Regions from separate parts of the Homo sapiens genome. Here region 2 is linked to region 1. The links are contacts of gene promoters, found by promoter capture Hi-C in blood cells and fetal thymus (Javierre and others, 2016). All regions are on one chromosome and are shown on one strand. The core of a region is centred on a gene start or on the middle of the fragment in contact, and the rest is flanking DNA. Distances in the headings are between cores, read along the strand shown.

Region 1 (3,300 bases), core at 692-3,191:
GTGATCTGCCCACCTCGGCCTCCCAAAGTGCTAGGATTACAGGCATGAGTCACCACTCCGACTCAAAACAGGTTTCTTATACCTTGTTGAGGCTGGGGATGGGGTCAGACTTAATGATAATCACAGTCCTGTGCAGCCACGGTTTATGGGGCACCTGCTCTTCTCCCGAAAGCCTGGAACCTCGGACTTCCCACTCAATTGCCCTCACCTACTCTAACTCTTCATTCTTAAGGCTCTGCCCCTTTCCTTCTGGCTCCCACCCTCAGGTGTCCTGAACCCTCCCGACTCTGGGCTGGCTGCCCGCAGAGCTGGGCTCCTTACTTCTCCACATTGGGGGATTTCTGCATCAAGTTGGAGCTGTTCTTTCGTAGGATGCTCCGGGGCCGGTCCTGTTGGGAGTTTTGGGGGTTCAAGCAAGTTGGCCCAGAGTGCGGACTGCACCCGGGGCTGTTTACCTCTTGCCCTGCAGGTCCCCCAGGCCCGGGGCTGGAAGCCCTGGATACACTGGTTCGAGGCCCGGGGATGTTGAATCCACCAGGGTTCCTGCCAGACCCAAGGCTGTGGTTCGCAGCCTCCCTTGGGTGCTGACTGGGCCCGGAACCAAGGACCACTATCCCCCCGGAGGGACAGCTTGAACCAGTACTATGAGTTACGGAGCCCCCTGAGTGCACGTGGGGCCCAGAACCGTGAAACAAGACTACTCTGGAGGGCTGCCCAGCGCCTGCCTCGACTCCTGTGACCGCTGCGGGCACTCCTCTGGCTGCCCCTCCAGGGGAATCCCGGTTGAGGCCGCCAGCAGCCCCTAGGGACTCCACCTTCTCCATGGCCCCACTGGGGGGCTGCTCTCAGCGATCCTGACCCGCCTCCCGGCTCCACGTAGCCCCGCCCCTGGCCCCGCCCCCACCGCTGCCGGCCGGGGATGCTCGGGCTCAGTCCCGGGTCCACTTCTCCCCTGCTCCAGAGCTGCGGCGGGCGGAATCAAGACTATATAGAGACTCGGGCTGGGGGTCCCTCCGCTCGCCCCTTTCCTTTGTGTCCCACCCAAAGATTTTCTTTGTCTGGGCAATTTGTTCCCGCCCTTCTCCATCACCACCCTCATCCAAACCAGCCAATCCCAGTCAGGGGGCCAGGCCAGGAGCTTCGACTGTGACCTCACGGTCCTCCAGCCTGAGCTTGAGCTTCGGGGAGTTGGGCAGGGGGCTTGTTAATAGCTCTAAGGGAGATCTTTTGGGGTCATCAACGCTGTCGCTTGAAACGGCCTGTCGGGACTTCTTTAGACTCTTTGTGGTCTTAACATGGAATAGTTTGGTTGAGTTGGAGTTGAAGCTGGGCTTGACTTGAACTATCAGCGAGCTTCCCCCACCCCCGCCAGTCGGCTAGCTCAGCCAATCAGAAGAGGTGTGAGGCAAAGTGGAAGGACTGCCGCACTGTTGCAAGACACTTCGTCCTCAGTCGGGTGGCGGGAAGAGACTTTCACTACCGCTTCTCTGGGTCCTCCAGACTCGGCTCACGCTGCTTTGGAGCCTGCATCCCGAGGGGAGACACCCCCTCTTGCCGTAAAGCGAGTGCTTCAAGGTGTCACCGCCCCCTAGCGAGGGCGGGGTCGTCGGTGCCGCTGTCGCAAAGCAGAAAGTGTTTGGGCTCCAGCACCCCACCGTCGTAAAGATGCCTGCGGTGGGCGTGTCTTTCTCCCACTGTCGCAAAAGCTCCCTGCCCAGGTCTTCGTCCCCCTCGGAGCCGCTCCGTCACCTCGCTATGCCGTAAAGCGAGGCTCCCGACCCCGTGTCCTTCTGTTCTCATCGTGGTCGTCCCCAGCTCCTAGCGCGGGCTGCTTCATTGCCCGGCAGTGCCGTAAAGCATACCTGGCCTCAGCCCCCCGGTCGTATCCCTCGGACTGTCTGCCCGACGCGGTTGCCACGGTGCCGCCAAGCGCGGCTGTCGCGCTGCCCCGGTGTCAGCGGAGATGGCGGCAGGGTCGGGTGGGAGTGGGGGCTCTGGGGGAGGCCCTGGACCGGGGCCGGGCGGGGGTGGGGGCCCCAGCGGGAGCGGCTCAGGACCGGGGTCCAACGGGGGTCTGGGCAGCGGCGGGGAACTGCACCCGCGCACTGGGCGCTTGGTGAGCCTGTCGGCCTGTGGGCGTACGGCGCGGCGGCAGCAGCCGGGCCAGGAGTTTAACCACGGGCTGGTGTTGAGCCGAGAACCCTTGCGCGATGGACGCGTCTTCACCGTCCGCATCGACCGCAAGGTGCAGCGCTGGTACCGCGGAACAGAGATGTGGAGGGTGGTGGGAGGCGTCTAGAGGGAGACGGGGTAGGACAGCCAGGGTAGCCCACATTGCCGGGCACCGAGAGGGAACAGAAAGACCATAGAGCACCAGGGGGCGGTCAGGAAGACAGCATGAAGCAGAAACATTGAGTTTGAAGATGACATTAAGAGCTTGAGTTTTCTCAAGATCCAGAACCAGGGAAGGGACACGAGGGCTAACCCACTAGAATGGCTGGGAACAGACCTCCTGGTACAATTTCTTGGGCATGGAGGATGGAGAGATGTCAGAGATGTGATGGCAAGTGAAGAAAGATGCCAAGGAACGAACAAACGTAATCCCAGCACTTTGGGAGTCCGAGGCGGGCGGATCACTAGAGTCAGGGGTTTGAGACCAGCCTGGTGAACGTGGTGAAACCCCGTCTTTACTAAAAATACAAAAATTGGCCAGGCATGGTGGCGTGCGCCTGTAATCCCAGCTACTCTGGAGGCTGAGGCAGGAGAATGGCTTGAACCCGGGAGGCAGAGGTTGCAGTGAGCTGAGATCATGCCATTGCACTCCAGCCTGGGCAATAGAGTGAGTGAGACTCCGTCTCAAAAAAACAGAACAAACCATTGAAGGACAGAGGCTGTGCCAGAAAGATAGGTGAGGAGAAAGATCCAGGGTGAGGGAGGTGTGTGTGATTCAGTGAAGAGGCCAGGCTCACAGAAAAAGAACTTGGAAGGAGATTGAATCTGGGTAGAGCCTGATCTTTGGAGAGAATTAGGCCAGGGGAAAGGAATGAATGATACACAAGAGCAAGAGGTGTGGGTATAGGAAGTAGGAGAATTTGGATGGTTGGAGAGCCATAGAGACAAGGAAAGTTAGAGGAGGCAGGAGGTTGGAACCAAGGAATTTGTGCTTGGCTTGGAAAGGAGTGGTTTAGTAAACACTGAGTAGAGAGCAGAGTTGCTAAAGGAAAGCCCAAATAATTACCAAGACGGAGTCCAGAAAATCACTGTCTGCATCTCTGGATTAGTGTTCCAAGAGACAGAAAG
Region 2 (2,941 bases), core at 130-2,629, 820 kb before region 1:
CTGTCTAGGGCCCCAGCTGGCCTCTTCTCTGGGCCATCCCCTTGGTCCCTCTGTAGTCCTGGCTTCCTGGCCCCCACTTTTGGGGCAGCTTTAACTGTGGGTGGCTGCGTCCTCTGGAGGAAAGTACTAGACACCACGTAGGCTGCCCGGAGACCTTGTCTCTGAGTGGCCATAGAAGCACCTGCCATTGTTTCCCTTCACAGCCACTATTGGCTCTGGTTGCCCCTTCCATTGTCCGCATCCTTCCTCCACCCACTCACCCACCGGTCACACGTGGACCCTTAACTGTCCTCTCCCAGGATTTGAAGTGTCAGAGGAAGTGCTTCGGTTAAAGGGCTTCATTATGTAGAACGAAGGTTGGGAGGGAACAAGGTTGGGAAAGGAACCCAGGAGAGGCCCAGGCAGGTTTCTGTCTCTCCCCTCCTCTCAAGGACCACCCATCTCATCCAGCGTGGCCTAACTTGCAGCGCCATTCCTTTTCCTCACCCTTGGAAAGGCGAAGATGCCAAGATGTTGTGTTCTGCAAGGCTAGTGCGTTCAGGAAGTAGACAAGTCTTGAGCACCTACCCCGGGCCGGGCTTTTTCCCTAAAGAGGCGCAGCGTATCTCCCTCTCTCCTCCCTTCCATTATTCAATGTGCAAGCGTCCTGCGCCCATTGGCTGGGCGGTGTCTGGGGCTCTTCAGCCCAGCACCAGCACCCAGGTCCACGTGCGCCCGTGTGTGTGACACAGCCCTGACCTTAGTGGAGACCACTAGCCAATCAGGCGCCGGGAAGAGATCCCCAGCCAATCGGGGGCGGGGCCTGCGGCTCCGTCGGCAAGAGGCCAATGAGGGGGCAGTGCCCGGCATTATGCAACCCGCCTCCCCGCCCGCCCGGTGGAGCTTCCACTCGGCTGCGGGCTGGAGCGGCGGCGGGCAGGCGTGCGGAGGACACTCCTGCGACCAGGTAGGCATCTCTGCGGCCATCCTGGGGCCGATCTCCGTCCCTGAGCCGGACCGCTGCCACTTCCAATCTGATGGGCTACTTTCGGCCCAGGCAGAGGGCACACTGTCGTCCTTACCGCTACCCACCCTCTCCCTGCCCCCAAGGACCGAAGTCCTCCTCGAAATCTTGCACCGGGAGTCTGCACTCCTGACCCACTCATCTTACCTCCAGCTTGTCCCCACCTCCCCGTCCCAGCTTTCCCGGCCCCACAGCCGACTCTCAGCGGGCATGCCCCGGTCTTCTTGCTCGTTACTCGAGGGGCCCCAGGTTTGCCCCGGTACCAGGACCCTATTAGGCTTTCAGCGCTCCCCGTGTCTCTGTTCTCCAGTCCCTGGCCCTGCGCCGCCTGTGATGTCAGCCCACTTCGGACTAGAACATCCCGTTCCCAGCGCTGGTTCCTGCTGTTGGCCACAACCTTCCCTTTTCCCCTGGCGCTCAGAAAATGCTCAGTAGTAGGGGTGTGGTTGGACGGGGAGTAGGGGAAGAAAGATCTGTTGGCTGTTGTGTGTCTTCTGCCCAAGGCTTGGGGTTGGTGGGGGGGTCTGGCCAGAAAAGTAGGGGACTGAAGAGAGAGGATCCTCGGGTCCTTGACGATGGCAGGTTGCCGGCTTCGGTCCTTGTGGTGGGGAAGCAGCGCAGGGGCTAAAGAAGGAAAGGTTGTGTTGTCTTGACCAGAATGACTGGGATCCAGGCGAGAGTCAGGTTGAGGGGCTTTTGCGCCGAGGGCAGTGGCCGTTGTGCTTCGTCCTGGGGAAGCCAGGACCAACCCTGGGATCCTAATAGGCCGTCCCACTTCTTACGGCCACCGAGCCATCCTGGGACTGGGGATATGTAAGGGATGCGTGACCCCCCCGGCCGCGCCCACCAGTGTGAGAGTGGGCCGTTCCCCCACTTCCGCCGGGAAATGGGGGAGGGGTCGCTCCTCCCGCCCTCCTGTGGTCCCTCCAGCAACCGCTGAGCTCAGCAGCTGACGTCGGTTTCCCTGGCGACCGTGGCGGCGGCGGAAGCGCGTGGTGGGGCCGCGCACGTCGGCGCGCATGTGCAGCGGGGGTGGCACCGCCCCCGGATAAAATTAGCCTGGAGGCCTAAATATAGGAGGCGACCAGCTCACCTCCTGCTCCGAGGCCTTGGAGGCCCAGGCAGAGTGGACACCTAATGGGAACTTGGGAATGGGAAGTGTCCAGGTTTTTGTCTACAGCCGTGGTTCTCATTGACTGCTCAGGCCATGGTGGCAGGGGATGTGAAGGAAGGCCCCGGAGAACCTTCTCCCGCTGGCAGTCCCCCTAAGGGTACAGGAGACATCCTGACTCCCCATTGGAAGCCCCAGGCCTGGGTTCCACTCCCATCAGTCCTGCAGGAGGCCAGGCAGGGGGAAGGTCTGAGTGAAGCCAGCAGGTGCTCTGGAGTTAAACCAGCTTTCTGCAAGCCCTGCTTCCTGGTCTCCCTCTCCAGGTACTGGCTGTGATCGAACTTCTCAACCCTCAGAGACTTAGATCTTCCACCTCACTCCCTCAGCCAAGCCTCCAGGCCCCCTCGTGCATCCGTGGTGGCCTCTCTGCCTTCTCTGTTCTGTTCTCCCCATGGCCCAGACATGAGTGGCCCCCTAGAAGGGGCTGATGGGGGAGGGGACCCCAGGCCTGGGGAATCATTTTGTCCTGGGGGCGTCCCATCCCCTGGGCCCCCACAGCACCGGCCTTGCCCAGGCCCCAGCCTGGCCGATGACACCGATGCCAACAGCAATGGTTCAAGTGGCAATGAGTCCAACGGGCATGAGTCTAGAGGCGCATCTCAGCGGAGCTCACACAGCTCCTCCTCAGGCAACGGCAAGGACTCAGCCCTGCTGGAGACCACTGAGAGCAGCAAGAGGTGTGTATGGATGTGTATGTTGGGTCTAGGAATGGTCTTGTGAGCAGGCAGAGCTGGGTGACAGGCCTCGCACTGCTGGCCCTACCTGTA

The links. Contacts are between HindIII fragments. The CHiCAGO score rates a contact against its expected background, and 5 or more counts as called.
Region 2: a fragment that was not itself captured here is called in contact with the fragment with the promoter of NEURL4 in region 1 in 1 of 17 cell types (activated CD4 T cells); the score reaches 5.3 in activated CD4 T cells.

Annotation. Positions count from the first base shown.
Region 1 is chr17:7,327,976-7,331,275 of GRCh38, reverse strand. NEURL4 (neuralized E3 ubiquitin protein ligase 4) reads left to right here and starts at 1,941. Exons shown (of 29, transcript NM_032442.3): 1 at 1,941-2,245. The coding sequence starts at 1,964. RefSeq lists enhancers at 507-656, 1,537-1,586, 1,617-1,796, 1,732-2,026, 2,009-2,668 and a silencer at 1,997-2,236. The HindIII fragment of the contact is 8,367 bases long and covers 1-3,300 here.
Region 2 is chr17:8,150,342-8,153,282 of GRCh38, reverse strand. PER1 (period circadian regulator 1) reads left to right here and starts at 879. Exons shown (of 23, transcript NM_002616.3): 1 at 879-946; 2 at 2,438-2,851. The coding sequence starts at 2,577. RefSeq lists enhancers at 638-932, 2,146-2,255, 2,725-2,941 and a silencer at 1,886-1,985. The HindIII fragment of the contact is 3,689 bases long and covers 1-2,941 here.